Regions from separate parts of the Homo sapiens genome. Here regions 1, 2, 3 and 5 are each linked to region 4. Evidence: promoter capture Hi-C in 16 types of primary human blood cells and fetal thymus (Javierre and others, 2016). All regions are on one chromosome and are shown on one strand. Each heading gives the region's core, a stretch centred on a gene start or on the middle of the fragment in contact. The rest is flanking DNA. Distances are from core to core; before and after follow the strand shown.

Evidence for each region. The method cuts DNA at HindIII sites, captures the fragments that hold promoters and counts their contacts. A CHiCAGO score of 5 or more calls a contact.
Region 1: a fragment that was not itself captured here is called in contact with the fragment with the promoter of CSRNP2 in region 4 in 4 of 17 cell types (megakaryocytes, erythroblasts, M1 macrophages and 1 more); the score reaches 8.6 in megakaryocytes.
Region 2: the fragment with the promoter of BIN2 here is called in contact with the fragment with the promoter of CSRNP2 in region 4 in 1 of 17 cell types (M2 macrophages); the score reaches 5.3 in M2 macrophages.
Region 3: a contact is called between a fragment that was not itself captured here and the fragment with the promoter of CSRNP2 in region 4, in 1 of 17 cell types (M1 macrophages). The highest score is 5.3, in M1 macrophages.
Region 5: a fragment that was not itself captured here is called in contact with the fragment with the promoter of CSRNP2 in region 4 in 3 of 17 cell types (endothelial precursors, megakaryocytes and M1 macrophages); the score reaches 6.5 in endothelial precursors.

Annotation. Positions count from the first base shown.
Region 1 is chr12:51,263,252-51,266,960 of GRCh38, forward strand. All of the region lies in intron 2 of SMAGP (small cell adhesion glycoprotein), which reads right to left. Among named protein-coding and RNA genes, the nearest start is that of SMAGP, 5.3 kb to the right of the region's middle. The HindIII fragment of the contact is 2,416 bases long and covers 967-3,382 here.
Region 2 is chr12:51,322,224-51,326,065 of GRCh38, forward strand. It overlaps BIN2 (bridging integrator 2), which reads right to left and starts at 1,951. Exons shown (of 13, transcript NM_016293.4): 1 at 1,799-1,951. The coding sequence starts at 1,879. It overlaps LOC105369767 (a long non-coding RNA gene), which reads right to left and starts at 1,785. Exons shown (of 2, transcript XR_944957.3): 1 at 1,505-1,785; 2 at 145-980. RefSeq lists an enhancer at 1,477-1,666 and a silencer at 1,697-2,186. The HindIII fragment of the contact is 11,893 bases long and covers 1-3,842 here.
Region 3 is chr12:51,288,999-51,292,797 of GRCh38, forward strand. It overlaps BIN2 (bridging integrator 2), which reads right to left. Exons shown (of 13, transcript NM_016293.4): 10 at 2,593-3,346. Among named protein-coding and RNA genes, the nearest start is that of SMAGP, 20 kb to the left of the region's middle. The HindIII fragment of the contact is 4,839 bases long and covers 1-3,799 here.
Region 4 is chr12:51,082,163-51,085,738 of GRCh38, forward strand. CSRNP2 (cysteine and serine rich nuclear protein 2) reads right to left here and starts at 1,434. Exons shown (of 5, transcript NM_030809.3): 1 at 1,177-1,434. RefSeq lists a silencer at 996-1,485 and an enhancer at 1,859-2,485. The HindIII fragment of the contact is 4,493 bases long and covers 1-3,576 here.
Region 5 is chr12:51,305,754-51,309,244 of GRCh38, forward strand. All of the region lies in intron 2 of BIN2 (bridging integrator 2), which reads right to left. Among named protein-coding and RNA genes, the nearest start is that of BIN2, 17 kb to the right of the region's middle. The HindIII fragment of the contact is 1,592 bases long and covers 1,098-2,689 here.

The DNA.
Region 1 (3,709 bases), core at 925-3,424, 180 kb after region 4:
GGGCGCCTATAGTCCCAGCTACTCGGGAGGCTGAGGCAGGAAAATTGCTTGAACCCGGGAGGCAGAGGTTGCAGTTAGCCGAGATTGCACCACTACACTCCAGCCTGGGTGACAAGTGGGAAATTCCATCTCAAAAAAAAAAAAAGAAAAGAAAATTCCTTAACTCCCCTGAACTTCAGTTTTTCCTTCCGTAAAATGAGACTAAAACTTGTTTCATTGGGTTGTGGTGAGGAATAAGTGCAATGAAAAATGCTGCTTTGGGAGGCTGAGATGGGAGGATCACCTGAGGCCAGGAGTTTGAGACCAGACTGGGCAACACAGTAAGACCTTATTTCTACAAAAAATTATTTTTAAAATAAAATAAAGAAAAATGCTAAGTGTCTAATACAGGGTGAGGACAACCTAGGCGGTAGCTGGTGTGATCATTTGGTGGCAAGAGATGAGCTTTACCTGGCACGGTGGGCAAAGCCCACAAGGCACAGTTCCACTCTGCCCTACTTCGAATAGGGCTGACTTATGCACTAGGCACAACAGGCACAGTGCCCTGGGCCCACAATGCTTCGAAAGGCCCATGAAAATGTTTTAAATAATTTTCATTTCTTTTATAATTAGAAGAAGGAAAAGAAACAAAATTTTAGGTCAAAGAAATATTAAGGTTGTTATGCCATTCAATTACTAATTATAAATATTAATTATATTATATTATATTCTTCCTTACACTGATGCAGTTGTAAAATATGATTTTTAATATTTTTTTAAGTGAAGGAGGAGCCCACAAAGACAGAAGTGCCCAGGGCTCAGGAGTCATAATGTGGCCCTTCCTTTCAAGGTTCCTGGAGGATATCTTCTCTAGGAAGTCTTTATAGACTGTGAGGGAGGAATAGGTGGGAAGGTGGGGGAAGAGAAATGCAAGACAGGGGTAGAAGAGAAGAGCTGGCCTTTAGTGATCCCATCATTTAAAGTATAAGCTTTCTTCCTATCTGTGATTTCTATTCTTTTGTCTATTGCTGTCTCTGAACTTACACTTGCTTGGACCCAGTGGATAGGAGACTGTCCTAAATCACTACTTCACTCATGTCACTCGCTGGATCAAGAATGCAGCCAGGTGAGGTGGCTTGCGCCTATAATCTCAACAACTCAGGGGCAGAGGAAGGAGCATGGCTTCAGGCCGGGAGAGTTGCCTGAGCAACATAGCAAAACCCTATCTCTACAAAAAATTTTAAAATTAGCTGGGCGTGATGGTGCACGCCTGCAGTCCCAGCTGCTCAGGAGTCTGAGGTGGGAGGATCCCTCAAGCCCAGATGTTTGGGTCTGTAGTGAGCCAGGATTGTGCCACTGCACTCCAGCCTGGGCAACAGAGTAAGATCCCATCTCTTAAAAAAAAAAAAAAAAAAAAAAGGTCAGGCACAGTGGCTCATGCCTGTAATCCTAGTACTTTGGGAGGCCAAGGCAGGCGGATTGCCTGAGCTCAGGAGTTTGAGACCAGCCTGGGCAACATGGTGAAACCCCGTCTCTACTAAAATACAAAAAATTAGCCGGGTGTGGCAGCGTGTGCCTGTAATCCCAGCTACTCAGGAGGTTGAGGCAGGAGAATTGCTTGAACCCGGGAGGTGGAGGTTGCAGTGAGCCGAGATGGTGCCACTGCAATCCAGCCTGGGTGACAGAGCAAGACTCCATCGCCAGAAAAAAAAAAAAAAAAAGAGAAAGAGAGAGAGGACTGATTCAACGATCAATTTTTTAAAAAAAATTTTTAAAGGATATAAATATACAACTGAACAAGAACAAAACAAATCAACTAAAAAATGGGACAAGACTTGAATAGACATTTCTCCAAAGATATACAAATGGTCAATAAGTACATGAAAAGATGCTCCACATCACTATCACTAGGGAAATGCAAATCAAAACCACAATGAGATACCACTTCACACACAATATGATGACTACCATTAAACAGAAAGTAACAAGTGTTGGCAAGGTTGTAGAGAAACTGAAACCTTTATGCATTGCTGGTAGGAATATAAAATGGTGCAGCTGCTGTGCAAACCTATATGGTGGATCCTCAAAAAAATCAAACACAGAATTACCACATGATATAGCAATTCCACTTCTGAGCATACATCCCAAACAACTGAAAGCAGGGTCTCAAGAAGATATTTGTACACCCATGTTTATGGCAGCATCAGTCACAATAGCCAAAAGGTGGAAGCAACTCAACTGTCCATCATAGATGAATGGATAAACAAAATGTAATATACACATACAACAATATTATTCAGCCTTGAAAAAGTAGGAAATTGTGACATGCTACAATATGGATGAACTTTGAGAATATTATGCTAAGTGAAGTTAGCCAGACACAAAAGGTCTATTGTATGATTCTACTTACATGAAGTACCTAGAGCAGTCAAATTTACATAGACAGAAAATAGAACGGTGTTTGCAGGGAAATGGGGAATCAGTGTTTAATGGGTGTCAAGTTTCGGTTTGGGAAGGTAAAGTTCTGGAGATGGATGGTGGTGAGGAACATGAATTACTTAATACAGTAGTCCCCCCAGGCCAGGCACTGGCCTGTAATCCCAGCACTTTGGGAGGCCGAGGTGGGCGGATCACGAGGTCAGGAGATCAAGACCATCCTGGCTAACACGGTGAAACCCCGTCTCTACTAAAAATACAAAAAATTAGCCGGGCGTGGTGGTGGGCGCCTGTAGTCCCAGCTACTCGGGAAGCTAAGACAGGAGAATGGCGTGAACCCATGAGGCGGAGCTTGCAGTGAGCTGAGATGGCGCTACTGCACTCCAGCCTGGGTGACAGAGCGAGACTCCGTCTCAAAAAAAAAAAACAACAGTAGTCCCCTCTTATCTGCGGTTTTGCTTTCCTAGGTTTCAGTTACCCGTGGTCAACTGCAGTCCGAAAACATTAAATAGAAATTTAACAGAAAAAGAAAATTCCAGAAAGGAACAATTCATACATTTTAAATTATGTACCGTTCTGAGTAGCGTGATGAAATCTCACACCCTGCTCCATCCTGCCTGGAAAGTGAATCATCCTTTTGTGTCCATGCTATAAACGCTTAGTAGAGTACCACAGCGCTTGTGTTCAAGTAACCCTTATTTTACATGACAGTGGCCCCAAAGCACAAGAATAGTGATGCAATTTGGACATGCCAACAAGAAGTGCTTCCTTTAAGTGAAAAGGTGAAAGTTCTTGACTTAAGAAAAAAAAAAAAAGAACTGTGTACTGAGGTTTCTAAGATCTATAGTAAATAAGACATTTTAAGTGAGAGAGACCATTTTCACATAACTCTTATTACAGTATATTGTTATAGTTGTTCTATTTTATTATTATTGTTAATCTCTTACTGTGCCTAATTTACAAGTTAAGCTTTATCATAAGTATGTATGTACAGGAAAAAACACAGTATAGATGGGGTTCAGTACTATCTGAGATTTCAGGCATCCACTGGGGTTTTTGGAATGAATCCCCTGTGGATAAGCGGGGACTACTCTACCACTGAATTGTCTGCGAAAAAATGGCTAAAATGGTAATACCTGTACTATGTTTATTTTACCATAAATTTTAAAAAAGAAAAAATGGCATGAGCCTGTAATCCCAGCACTTTGGGAGGCCGAGAAGGGCAGATCACTTGAGGCCAGGAGTTTGAGACCAGCCTGGCCAACATGGCGAAACCCTGTCTCCACTAAAAGTA
Region 2 (3,842 bases), core at 701-3,200, 240 kb after region 4:
TTTTACAGGTGCAAGATCTGAAGCCCAGAGCAGGACATTATTTAGCCAAGGTTTGGAGTCTATGCTTACAAAGGAGTGAAAGCCCAAAGCAAGGTTTTAGTGTTGACGAGAGGCTAGATGAAGACAGAAGATGCAAGAGTGAAATACAATCAATTGTATGTCTTTTATTTTTATGTATTTATTTTTATTTTTTGAGACAGAGTCTCCCTCTGCTTGAGTGTGGTGTGGTGTGATCACTGCTCACTGCAGTCTTGATCTCCTGGGCTCAAGCAGTCCTCCCACCTTGGCCTCCCAAAGTGCTGGGATTACAGGAGTGAGCCACTGTGCCTGGCTGGTATGTCTTTTTAAAATTACTATCATTCATGAGTGTTTTGTCTTTTAGGGTTTTTTTTTTTTTCAACCACAGTGTGGCCTTCTCTCCAGTACCTCCTGCTCGCCCACACTGTTTCGAGCTAGACCTTCCCATAGGCCCTGCTCTCGGGTCTACCAGATTTGTAAGTCTTCAGAGAGGCTGAAACTAGGATCAAGGTGAAGTTAGGGTAAGTGAAGTAACGAAGTCTGGCTACACGAACTCTTTCCCTTTTCCTCCTCTCTTTCACATGACCTCAAATGATAGAAAATAACCTCCCTTCCATTGTGGTCTCTTAAAGTCAGGAGCTACATCTACATTCCATCAGTTTTCTGCTGATAAATCAACTCGGGAGAGCTGGTTGCCTTTAAGCCTTCCCAGGGCTCAAAGCAGTGCTCCACTTTTAGAAGATAATAGGGATATTTCAGTTGGTAAGCAGAGCTGTTCATCCAAATGCTTCTAAGTCCATCAGCTCTTAGAAAACCAAAACTTCTCCGTTGTAGAAGGCAGGTTGGGCTTAATAAAGAGAGAGAGAAAAAAAGGAAAACCGAAACTCTATCTCAGGTCCTTCTTGTCTTTCTTCCCTCGCTCTTTCTTCTGGCTGACATGTCTTCCCAAACCGCCTTGTCTACTAGAGGGTTGGTAGGTGGAGAGCAGAGGCTCAGGTTAGAAGCAAAGAAAATATTCTGTACAGGTAGAAACAAAAATGCCATCAAAATGTGTAGAGAATGTCCCCACAATTTAGATTGCCAAGCAAGTAATAGATGGGCAGCCCACCTAAGTGCCAGTGCTGGAGCAGGGCTACCTGACACTAACCAAGGACACACTCTGAACACAGATGTGGTTCATCACCCTGGGAGGTGTACTCCCCAACGCCAAAGGGAGGGTAGAAGAAGCAGATTTGGGCTCCTGCTTACGTCAGCTGAAACACCACCCAGAGGCCAGGCAGGGTCAGGTAGGGGGAGAACTATGCAGGATTATTCTAAGCCTTTGGTGGGGGGTGCCTGCTGGCATCCGCTGCATCGCTGTTTTTGGGGAAATTGCCCTCTATGGAAAATTACCCTCCAATTTCATCATCTGTAAAATACCAATTTTGGATTGCTAGCACAAAATTTGATACAAAGGTGGCCACCACCATCACTTCCTTTCTTTCACCTTTTCTGGGTCAGCCTGAGGGTTGTCGAAGGTTCTGCCCAGAGACTGTTGTCTCCCCAGCTTCCCTTATCCTTGCCCAAGATCGGGTGGCGGTCTCCGACCTCTCTCCAATCTGCCAGTTTTCATGGAAGCCCACTCCTCGCTCCCGTTTCCCTGGGAGAGCGGGAGACCCTTCTCGTCAGCCCAGACCCTTCGGGGCCCCTGAGCACCCTGCCCGCCCCTCCTGCCCGGCCGGGCTCGGCCTCGGCCTCGGCTCCCTGTGGGCCAGACAGACAGCGAGGCCCGGCCACCTACCTTCTCCTGGGCCCTGCTAAACTTCTTCTGCACCTGCTTGGCGAAGAGGCCGGCCGCGCCGCCTGCCTTGCCCTCTGCCATCCTGCCAACTCCCTGGGGGCCGCCGCCCTGGCCCCGCGCCCTGTGGTTTTCTGAGGCCCCCGAGGAGGAAGTGCGGGCTCCCGGCATGCCTCGCATCCGGCCCCAGCCCTGAGCCACCTCAGGCCGCCCCTGGCCAGCCCTGAGGCCCGCCCCTCAGCCCACCACTGTCAGCTGGAGCAGGCCGGCTCGGAGGGGCGGGCCCGGGGCCTACCCTCAGGCAGCGCTCGCTCGAGGCCAGCTTCCGAGCTCCAACCCCTGCCCGAAACCTCGGCCTCACTGAACCAGGTCCTCAGTGGTGGGCCCACACTCACTCGCTCCGGAAAGCCAGTTCCCATCACGCTGAGCACTGCAAAGCAACTGCCACCGCAGGGTAGAAAATGATGTGGGTTCCACTCAGCGAGAGGACCTACCATATCGAAAACACGTTTAGGTTCTCTGAGTATGCATGCGAAGCCGCCATGTACACTGCGTTTCTTGCTCCAGGTAGGCTCTAAGCCTGGAACTGGTAGGGATAGAGTGCAGAAAGCAGGCAGGACACCCGAGCCGGGCTTGAAAGAGAGAAACAGGCCGGGCGCGGTGGCTCACGCCTGTAATCCTAGCACTTTGGGAGGCCGAGGCGGGTGGATCGCCTGAGGTTAGGAGATCAGCCTGACCAATACGGTGAAACCGCGTCGCTACTAAAAATACAAAAATTAGCTGGGTGTGGTGGCGCACGCCTGCAGTCCCAGCTACTCGAGAGGATGACGCAGGAGAATTGTTTGAACCCGGGAGGCAGAGGTTGCAGTGAGCCGAAATCGCGCCACTGCATTCCAGCCTGGGCGACAGAGCGACAGTTCGTCTCAAATAAATAAATAAATAAATAAATAAATAAATAAATAAATGAGGAACAACTAAGCTGGAGATAGAAACAGGGTAGGGGGCTGGTTCTTAGGCAAGAGAATGATCACATTGAAAAAAGGCTGAGGAGGATAGTATGGACGCCCGTGCTGAGCATGAGGAGCAAGTTTTTCTAGTTGGAGTACAGTGTACTGGATGGAGGCAGAATGTGAACACAGACACAGATTGTGCAAATTGGGGTGCGGCTGTTGAGATGACAACTATTGTTTCTTTAGGGAGAAGTTCTCCAAAAAATTCCTCCCTGACCTGTTTGAGGGGATAGCTTGAGATTAGGACACTAGGTGTGGAGGAACCACGTACTCAGATTTTACAGTGCAGGTTAAAATTTCCTCAAGGCAGGGAAGAAGGTCAAAATAACACTTCCTAAGGAGTGGAGGGGGAAGATAGGGCCTGACACAAAATTAGAGGCCCTTGTATGCTACTGTGTTCCTCTTCTTTCTCCAAAACAATCATTACTGCACTCAAGGTCAACTGTGTACCAGGCATTGCTGGGTGTTCTGAAACAAGGATGAATAAAATGCAGTCCCTGACCTTAAGATGCTTAATGAAGTCTGGCCGGGCACCACGGCTCACACCTGTAATCCCAACACTTTAGGAGGCTGAGGCAGGCAGATTGCTTGAGCCCAGGAGTTTGAGACTAGCCTGCGCAACATAGCAAGACCTTCTCTCTGCTAAAAATACAAAAATTAATTGGGCGTGGTGGCACACACCTGTAGTCCCAGCTATCAGGGAGGCTGAGGTGGGAGGATCACCCGAGCCAAGGGAGGTGGAGGCTGCAGTGAGCCCTGATGGTGCCACTGCATTCCAGCCTGGGCAAAGCGTGAGGCCCTTTCTCAACCAATAAAGAATAAGTATTAATAAATAAGTACATAAATAAAGATGCTTAAAGTCTGGAAGTGGAGATAGGTGGGTAATCAGGTGATTCTAATGTAATGTGCTTAATTTATTTGTAGAGATGGATACAAAATTTTCTGGGAATAGGTGATTAGGGTTTGTTTGTTTGTTTGTTTGTTTGGAGACAGGGTCTTGCTTTGTTGCCAGGCTGGAGTGCAGCAGTGCCATCAGG
Region 3 (3,799 bases), core at 301-2,800, 210 kb after region 4:
CAGCCTCCCGAAGTGCTGGGATTACAGGCGTGAGCCACTGCGCCCGGCCCTTAGCTCTTAACATCAAGGAAAGAGAACTAATTTTCAAGGCGGCCCATCCCATATTTTTTTTGATCAGCCCCTTGTGTCTCCTTTGCCCTTCCACAATACTTTTTTCCCATCCCATTTAAAAAATTGAGCTAATTGTTGAAAGTTCCTCTTGTATTGTTCCAAAATGTATCTTAAAAAAAAGTCTTTATATGTAGTTTCTGCCTCTGCCCTCTGGAGTGTCACAGAACAAGTCAAATCCCTATATGATAGTCTTTCCATATAATGTGACTAGAATATGACTTGAGGCCGGGCACGGTGGCTCACACCTGTAAGCCCAGCACTTTGGGAGGCGGAGATGGGAGGACCACTGGAGCCCAGGAGTTTGAAACCAGCCTGGGCAACATGGCGAAACCCCATCTCTACCAAAAATACAAAAATGAGGCAGGCATGGTGGCATGCGCCTGTAGTACCAGCTACGTGGGAGGCTAAGGAGGGAAGATCACTGGGGCCCAGAGAGGTCAAGGCTGCAGTGAGTCATGATCATGCCATTGCACTCCAGCCTGGGTGACAGAGTGAGACCCTGTCTCAAAAGAAAGAAAGAAAAAAAAGAGTATGACTTGATTTACAGATCCTTCACAGAACTAGTTGCTCTTCAATGGGTTGGCATCTCTCAATTTTTTTTCAAGACTTAAAAATTTTTTTTTGAGATAGGGTCTCACTCTGGTGCCCAGGCTGGAGTGTAGTAGTGCTCACTGCAGCCTCGACCTCATAAGCTCAAGCAATCCTCCTGTCTCAGCCTCCCAAGTAAGGAGCAGCCTTTTCAAAAGGCTGTCCTTTTTGCTTTACTTCCCTCTGTGAGTTCCTGCTTCTAGGTCTTCTCATCAGAGAAGACACACCCTGGAAATTTGCTGCCATTTTTTTTCAGGGTCTATTTACCATAGTCACAGGTATAATGAACTGAAGTGAGACCCACCCTCCTGCCCCCACTAAAGAAGGTAAAGCTCAGGATTCCAACTATTGGTCCTTTATTTTTTTGAATTTATTATTTATTTATTTATTTATTTTATTTTGTATTAATTTTTTTTTAACTTTTTCTTTTTCTTTTCTTTGAGACACAGTCTCACTCTGTTGCCCAGGCTGGAGTGCAGTGATGTGATGTCGGCTTACTGCAACGTCTGCCTCCTGGGTTCAAGTGATTCTCATGTTCTTGTGCCTCAGGCCTTCCAAGTAGCTGAGACTACAGACACCACCATGCCTGGCTAATTTTTGTATTTTTAATGGAGACAGGGTTTCACCATGTTGGTTGGCCAGGCTGGTCTCGAACTCCTGGCCTCAAGTGATCTGCCTGCCTTGGCCTCCCAAAGTGCTGGAATTACAGGTGTGAGACACGACGCCCGGCTTCAACTAAAGGTTCTTTATACTAGGAACTCCCAGAACTTGGAGGAAAAGAAAGAAATTAGTAAGAATCTGCTCATTAACACTACTAGAGATAAGCCCCTTATAGAAGTCAATTACTGGCTGGGCGAGGTGGCTCACGCCTGTAATCCCAGCACTTTGGGAGGCCGAGGCAGGCGGATCACGAGGTCAGGAGTTCGGCACCAGCCTGCCCAACTTGGAGAAACCAGCTGGGCGAGGTGGCTCACCCCTGTAATCCCAGCACTTTGGGAGGCTGAGGCGGGTAGATCACAAGGTCAGGAGATCGAGACCATCCTGACTAACACAGTGAAACCCCATCTCTACTAAAAATACAAAAAATTAGCCAGGCATGGTGGCCGGCACCCGTAGTCCCAGCTACTCGGGAGGCTGAGGCAGGAAAATGGTGTGAACCCGGGAGGCGGAGCTTGCAGTGAGCAGAGATCGTGCCACTGCACTCCATCCTGGGCGACAGAGCGAGACTCCGTCTCAAAAACAAAACAAAACAAAACAAAAAATAAACATGGAGAAACCCCGTCTCTACTAAAAATACAAAAATTAGCCGGGTGTGGTGGCGTGCACCTGTAATCCCAGCTACTCTGGAGGCTGAGGCAGGAGAATCACTTGAACCCAGGAGGCAGAAGTTGCAGAGAGCCAAGATTGCATGACTGCACCCCAGCCTGGGTGACAGAGCGAGACTCCATCTCAAAAAAGCAAACAAACAAACAAACAAAAAAAAGTCAATTACCCTAAAAGTAGATTACTAAATTAATAGCTATGAAGACATGAAACAATCCCCAAAACCAAAAAAGGTGTCCAAGAGTATTCTGACTATAGTAAAGATACCTACATGGAGGTTATAAAAGGATATAAAGACCCTACCAGAGCCGGGTGCAGTGGCTCACATCTGTAATCTCAGCACTTTGGGAGGCCAAGACAGGAGGATCACTTGAGGCCAGGAATTCAAGACCAGTCTGGGCAACATAAGGAGACCCTATCTCTGTTGGCAGAGGATCACTTGAGCTTGAGAGGTCGAGACTGCAATGAGCTGTGATCGCACCACTACACTCCAGCCTGGACGCCTGAGTGAGACCCTAGCTTAAATAAATAAATTAATTAAATTAAATACCCAACCAGAACTACTCTTACCTGAGATGTCATTAAGGTGGGGGAAGTACAAAGTTCTTCAGGGTTCTGATTGTGGATGTTTTCATTTTCTTTGGCCTCAGGAGTTCTTACTGGCTTCTCTGGTGGTTCTGGATTAGGAGAGACCTCTAGGGAGGTCCTAGGACTTGCAGTCCCAGTCCCCAAGGAGGCCCTAGGGCTGGTGGGTGAACCCCCTCCAGAGGCTGTAGGGCTGGAAGGTATGTTCCCTGAGGAGGGCCTGGGGCTTGCAGTGGCTCTGGGTGGAGGAGGCCTACTAGGGGGTGCTGAGGTCCTCTGGATAGAGGCTCTCTTCTTTGGTTGTTCAGATCCTTCACTTGCGGTGCGGGTTCGGAGGACTACTTCTGTGGCAGATGATGAAGGCTGCCCTGAAGGGCTCAGGGCTCCGCCTGGTGATGGAGTTGTGGAGCTGGGGAGAACTTCCTCCTGGGACTTGGCCCTTTCAGTGGTAGGAGAGGGCTGGGCCTGGGCGGGGCCATTGCAGGCTGGTAGAGGCTCATCTTCCTCAGAGGAGCTTGCTTCAGATCCTTCCTTCTCTATTTCCTCCTCTTCTAAGAGCTCCTTGATCTCAGAATTGTCTTCCCCTTGGGCTGCATCAGGTGCCAGATCTTCAGTTGCTGAGACAGATTCACTCTCACTCTTCAAGGAAAGTGTAGAGGGACTAGTAGGTGAGGTAAGAGGACTGGAGACTGTAGCTGTTCGAACTGGGGGAGAAATGACTAAAGAGCGCCTGCTGCTGCTAAAAAAGGAAGGTGTTCAGATTCAGAACGGCTAAAAACCAGAAGCAATGTAAATATGCAAAACTTACGATGCATGTAATAAAAAAAAGAATAAAGCAATTTAAAATGTTAGAAAGTTTGCATAATTTACAATAACACTTATACAGTGAAATGAAAAAAGGCCAAAATTTTATCTATATCATGAACTCAATTATGTAAAAATATGTACAGAGAAAGAGACTGGAAAGAAACACTGCAAAATGTCGCAAATATTTCCTCTGGGGCAAAGATTAATGGGTGATATACAGTTGAACTACACAGATTTCATATCTGTGAATTACCTACTTATTTATTTGGAACCCCCAAATCAATACTTGTGGCACTTTCCCAGTCACTATTGGAGATGCCCAAGTGGTGAAGAATGAGTTGCCTGGCACGCACTTTCCAGATGAAGTCTAACAAGGCAATCATCT
Region 4 (3,576 bases), core at 184-2,683:
GGTTGTTTCTCATATACCATGAATTTCATGGATCCATGTGTCTTTGTGATCACCAGGATCATGAACTTACAAAGCACCCAAGTGAAAACCCCCCGCTTAAGTTAGGTGTTTAAAGAAAGCCGTGCACTCACCACCCCCACTCCCCGATTTTTACCCATTCACTAACACAAGGTTAGAATTTTCCATGCCTAAACTACCATCGTGTGGAAGACAGATCTTTGTGGGAACTGGAACATGATGCTGCATTAACTCTCAAGGATATCCAGTCATTTATAACACCGGCACAACCAACATCCTGGCTTTGTGGATTTGCAAGACAGAAAGCCAGTGAAGAAAAAAATCTGAACTATGAATTTACCTTGAACTGAAAACTGCAGGACAAGGGGACAGTGTTGTCTTGTGGGGATAACTTCTAGCATTTCATTCTGAAGAACAGTTTGTGTGTCACACTGCCACTCTCAACCCCTTTAAAAGGATGAATCAAGACCACAGCACTAAAAGGGACGGGTGGCAGTTGGCTGCGTAATTGGGCCTATGAAAAAAGATCAAGCTAGCAACCAGGGCAATTGATGCTTTCATTTTCCCACACGACGCCAGAAATATGGGAGACATCAGGAACCGGAGCGAAGGGACATGTCAAGTCACCAGTTCCTTTTAATGAACACTCCTGCCGAACCCTTCAGCTCTCGGCCCACTTCCCTCTGATTCCTGCTAACCTTCCCGCTCATTCCAATCCTCTGCAGCCCCTACCCAGCCTTCCGCATCCCTTCCTGCCTGCTACTCACAAATTCCCAACCACTCCTCCCACATTTTCCTCTGTTCCCCCTCCCCTTCCTTCACTTTCCTCCATCCTACATCATTCTCCACTCCATTCCGAACTCAATCCTCATCTGCAATCCTGCAGGCTTCCAAGCCGCCCATCGGTCTCCCGCGAGCTGCCCCCGCAGTCCGGGCCAGCGTCCTCGGTGCCCCTCGCTCCCACGCCTCTTCCCGACTCGGTTCCTTCCCAACGGCACCCGACCTCCCCGCCCCCCGACCGCTCCCGTCCGAGCCTCTCATTTCTGACCCCTCCATCCGCACGGCTCTGGGCTTGACCACTCCTCCACGGCCGCCCGAGGGCCGATCCCGAGAAAGGACGAGGCGGCACCCTCCGCCCCGCACCCCTAGGCCCATTACCGGCCCCGCCGCAGCTGCCTCCTCCCGTGATGGTCTCTGCCGCCCCCGCTGCCGCCGCCGCCCTAGCCCGGTGGGAAGGAGGGAGGAGCGAGCGAGTCCCGGGCCCCGCGGCGACGGCCGGGGAGCTCCCAGGGCGGCAGGGCGGGGAGGGAGGGCGGTGGGCAGCCCAGCCGGCAGGCAGAGAGGGCCGGGCGTCTCCGGCAACTCGGGCGCCCCCGGCAGCAGACGCCCAGAACCGCCCCGGCTCCGGCTAACAATAGGATCCGGCCGCAGCGCACTGGCTCTTATAGGCGCCGGCACGTCCTGACCGAGACCCGGGGCTGGCTGGGAAATGGAGTCTACGGGCCGGCCCACACCCAGCAGCATGCCGGGAGTTGTAGGCGGTAACTGCTGCAAAGCCGAAGCCGGCGCGCAAACCGGCTCCCGAGGCGGCAGCTCTGCTGCAACCTTTTAATGGGGGAAGAGAGGAGACTCAGCTACAGATCTTAAATAAACGAATTCTCCTCCAAAGCTCCCTTTTTCTTTCGTGTCCTGACCACACGCCATTAGGAACATGATCCCCCCTTCTCCTCGCTCATGGGGTCTTAGTCTTCAGCAATATGACTTATTGCAGCCTGCGCAGGTTATAAAGAATACAAGCAATATCTTGAGTTATCTACTTATATGAGGGAGTGCTTTGAGTGTTTTCTTTAAAAAAAAAAAAATTGCTGCCGGGCGCGGTGGCTCACGCCTGTAATCCCAGCACTTTGGGAGGCCGAGGTGGGCGGATCACGAGGTCAGGAGATCGAGACCAACCTGGCTAACAAGGTGAAACCCCGTCTCTACTAAAAAATACAAAAATTAGCCGGGCGTGGTGGCGGGCGCCTGTAGTCCCAGCTACTCGGGAGGCTGAGGCAGGAGAATGGCGTGAACCCGGGAGGCGGAGCTTGCAGTGAGCCGAGATCGCGCCACTGCACTGCAGACTGGGCGAAAGAGCGAGACTCCGTCTCAAAAAAAAAAAAAAAAAAATCTTCTCAACTTTGCAAACTAATTTATTTATTTAAATAGAAAAGGGGTTTTCGCCATGTTGCCCCGGCTGGTCTTGCACTCCTGGGCCCAGGCGATCCGCCCGCCTCGGCCTCCCAAAGTGCTGGGATTATACGCATGAGCCACCGCGCCCTTCCGCAACCTATTTTTAAGAAAGGGCGCCAGGCGCGGTGGCTCATGCCTGTAATCCCAGCACTTTGGGAGGCCGAGGCGGGCGGGTCATGAGGTCAGGAGTTCGAGACCAGCCTGACCAACATGGTGAAACCCTGTCTCTACTAAAAATACAAAAATTAGCCGAGGGTGGTAGCACGTGCCTTTAATCCCAGCTCCTCGGGAGGCCGACCCAGGAGAATGGCTTGAACCCGGGAGGCGGAGGTTGCAGTGAGCCAAGACTGCACCATTGCCCTCCAGCACGGTCAACAAGAGCGAAACTCCGTCTCAAAAAAAAAAAGAAAAAGAAAAAGAAAAAAAAGGGGAAAACCAAGATTAAGAAGTCAAAAGTTGTATGTGATTTGCCAAGGACACATAGCCTTGGTTTCTTCTTTGTTGTCTTTCCCTTGAACTATAAGGCTCGGCAAGCTCGAGCTGCATTCTCTTGTCCCCCGACCCCCACCCCGCCCCCTCATTTTGTTCTGTCATCTTGTTTGCTTCTACTTTCCCCCTTCCATACTCTGCTTGAATACACTGGCCTCATTGCAGCTCCTTCAACTGGGCAATCATTCTCTTACCTCAGGGCCTTTTGTCTGGCTTCCACCAGCTAGCCACATACTTACTCCCTCACATAATATCTGCTCGAATGTCCCCATATCCGAGATCTTCCCTAACCATATTTCTTTTTCCCTGCATTAAGAGACAGGATTTCACTCTGTCACCCAGGCTGGAGTGCAGTGGCGCAATCACGGCTCACAGCAGCCTCAAACTCCCGGGCACAAATGCCTAACCATATTTCTAAAATGGTGCTTCTCCTTAGTTTCTATCCCTGTGCCTTATATTTCTTCTTAGCATCCACGTATTTGTTTTTGTCTTGTCTCACTTGACTAAATTCGGTGAGAGCAAGGAATTGTTTTGTTTACTGTATCCTCAACACACAGTACAAAGCCTAGTAGTTGACATTTAAGAGTATGATAGATATTTATTGGATAGATGGATGGACAGCAGGATTTAAACTCACGTTAGGCTGGTTCCAAAACCTGGTACATTTTTCACTGCAACCAAGAAACTATGAAGCCAGATCCACTAGCTACCAAGCCATCTCAGCTTTAGAAGTGAGAGGCTGGATGGCTTGGGAAAACATGCTAAGAATTTCAGTTCTCTCCCCTAGGTGACATCAGAGACTCCAAGAAGCTAGGACACTACACTGCAAAATAAAAAAGC
Region 5 (3,491 bases), core at 644-3,143, 220 kb after region 4:
TGGTCAAATCAAAGAAAACTGGACTAGTTATTTCATCCATTTTTTTTGCCTCCAGAGCTCACTGTTTTCTTTCTTTTTTTTTTTTTTTTTTTTTTTTTGAGATGGAGTCTCGCTCTGTCGCCCAGGCTGGAGTGCAGTGGCGTGATCTTGGCTCACTGCAACCTCCGCCTCCTGGGTTCAAGCGACAATTCTCCTGCCTCAGCCTCCTGCATAGCTAGGACTACAGGTGTGTGCCACCACGCCTGGCTAATTTTTTGTATTTTTAGTAGAGACAGGGTTTCACTGTGTTAGCCAGGATGGTCTCGATCTCCTGGCCTCGTGATCTGCCCACCTCGGCCTCCCAAAGTGCTGGGATTACAGGTGTGAGCCACTGTGCTGGGTCTCAGAGCTCACTTCTAAGCTAGTCCAAACTTTTGATCAAACTTCAGATCAAAAGTCCCTCTCAAGGGGCTGAATGTCAGTTTGAAGGGACATGAGGACACAGTCTTAAAGGAGTGAAAGGCACTGTCAGACAGGTACAGAACTGTGATTGTGTGCTGTGTTACAGCAAATGAGGATTAAGAGAACATCATATAAACAATCAAGGAAGTAGGCCAGGCGAGGTAGCTCAAATCTGTAATCCTAGCATTTTGGGAGGTTGAGGTAGGCAGATCACTTGAGGTCAGGAGTTCAAGACCAGCCTGGCCAACATGGTGAAAGTCCGTCTCCACTAAAGATACAAAAATTAGCCAGGTGTGGTGGTGGGTGCCAGTAATCCCAACTACTCGGGAGGCTGAGGCAGGAGAATCACTTGCACCCGGAAGGTGGAGGCTGCAGTGAGCTGCAATTGCGCCATTGCACTGCAGCCTGGGCGACACAGCAGACTCTGTCTAAAAATCAAAACCAATCAAGGAAGTGTCAGATGCTACAGAGACGTTAGAATGCAGGAAGAATTGGTAAAATTCACTGGATTTGGTAATGGGTCACTGGTGACCATGAGAAAGCACTTTCAATAGCATATTGGAGACAGATTCAGTCAGTTAACAAAATTCAGAAACACTCAGCATCTACCAGAAAGGATATCTCACTTCCTCCTTGCTTTTTCATTTATAGAAAAAAGCTTAGATAGCCTAACATGTTAAATGTATACAACATCTTTTAAATGTGGATAAGGGAGGTAGGTAGAGGTTTGAGAATTTTGAAAAGGTGATAATCAAGATTTTAAAGAGCCTTGAAAAAGTTTTGGGGATTATAAAAATGAACAAGGCTTGGCCGGGCACAGTGATGCACGCCTGTAATCCTAGCACTTTGGGAGGCCGAGGCGGGCAGATTGTGAGGTCAAGAGATCGAGACCAGACTGGCCAACATGGTGAAACCCTGTCTCTACTAAAAACACAAAAATTAGCTGGGTGTGGTGGCACACGCCTGTAATACCAGCTACTTGGGAGGCTGAGGCAGGAGAATGGCTTGAACCCGGGAGGTGGAGGTTACAGTGAGCTGAGATCGCGACACCGTACTCTAGCCTGGGCGACAGAGTGAGACTCTGACTCAAAAAAAAAAAAAAAAAATTAACAAGACTTTTAAATTCTTTCTTGAAGGAGAAAAAAGGACTCAATTTTTTACTTCACCATGAAAATTTTATTTCAAAAATAAATACAATAAAGTAATAAAAACTGTTAAATTACCTTGCACAGGCTGGGAGCGGTGGCTCACCCACTATAATCCCACCACTTTGGGAGGCCGAGGCAGGTAGATCACCTGAGGTCAGGAGTTCAAGACCAGCCTGGCCAACATGGTGAAACCCCATCTCTACTAAAAATACAAAAATTAGCTGGGTGTGGTAGTATACGCCTGTAATCCCAGCTACTTAGGAGGCTGAGGCAGGAGAATCGCTTGAACCCGGGGGCACAGAGGTTGCAGTGAGCTGGGATTACACCACTGCACTCCAACCTGGGCGACAAGAGAGAAACTCCGTCTCAAAAAAAAAAAAAATTACCTTGCACAATTTGTACAAATAAAGTTCCTAATTTTTTCCCATTAGTTATCATATAACCTGAAAAATCAGATGAGTAATCAAGGCTACCATGCATAAATGCACAGTGTTGAAAACTAGGGGGTACTCTATCACAGCCCAGAAAATGAATGCCTTCTGCTTTCCACTGCAGCTCACAAAAGCCCCGCTCCATTTCTGTGTTTTAGAATGAAGCCTTTTAGTTACAAAGTTCTCCTTTATGCTCTTGCTCTTTCTTTTGCGAAGATGAAGTATGAGTGTGAGAGTGAGTGTGTGTGTGTGTTGGTGGGGGTAGTGGTATGGAGTGGGGAAGGAGAGAGAAGACAGGTCAGCAACAGGTATCATTTTCTTTCTCTGACCTATCTGTCCCCCCCTGGAATATATCCAGGCTGAATAATCCCAACATCTTTCTCCTTTCCTGACAGATGTGACTCTCATAGTCTTGGGTTCTCGCTTGTCTGGGAGTCAAGAAACTTGACTTTACCACCAACTAGCAAGTTACTCCACTTCTCTGCCTTCCATTTCTTCATCTATAAATGCAGGGTAAGCCAGTTCTAGCTCTAAATCTTATGACTTTATCACTTCTGCTCTCTGAATCCTTGCCGAATTCTTGGCATTGCCATAAAGAGTCTGAGTCAGTCCTTCCCACCCATTATACAAACAGTCCCAACCCTCAGTTAATGAACCACTCACACCAGAAGCTTGTCCTGAGCAGTCAGGAGGACAGAGCTAGGTCTTAAGAGACTGGGGTACTGAGGATGGAGAAAGTTCTTGTCCTGGGGTTCCCTACTTTCTGGAGAAAAATTGGCTCAGACACTCAGCAAAACAAGTGTAAATAGCATGCCCAAGTGTTGAAGTGATCAAGTGTTGAAAGTGCTTGGTTTAATGTAGATCTAGGAGGGAAATACGAAGCTAGATTATTAGATTTGAGTTTAAAGGTAATGAATTGGAAGCAGCTGTCACTACCAAAAATAACAGGTTAAAGTGTTGCTTGAGGAAAATAATCCTTCCTATGTAATACACTGAAGAGAAGGAAAAGCAGGAAGCAAGTAGAGCCTCAGAGAAAAATTACCTATAGAAGAAATGTGATCAGGGCTGGGTGCAGTGGCTCATGCCTGTAATCCGAGCACTTTGGGAAGCCGAGGTGGGTAGATCACTTGAGGTCAGGAGTTTGAGACCAGCCTGGCCAACATGGTGAAACCCCGTCTCTACTAAAAATACAAAACAACAACAAAAACAAAAAAGAAAAGAAATGTGATCAGGAATGTGGGCGAATGGCAAGACTTTGAAATCAGGCTAGGAAGTTTGGTATTGATAGGATAAGCTATTAATAAAAAGTTTACCTGCAAGCTGACTGTGGGTGAGGGATAGGGCACATGACCAACCCGTTCAACTTCTGGAACACTTCACTCACACCTGTAATCCCAGCACTCAAGGAGTCAGAGGCAGGAGGATTGCTTGAGCCTAGGAGTTTGAGACCAGCCTGGGCAACATAGTGAGA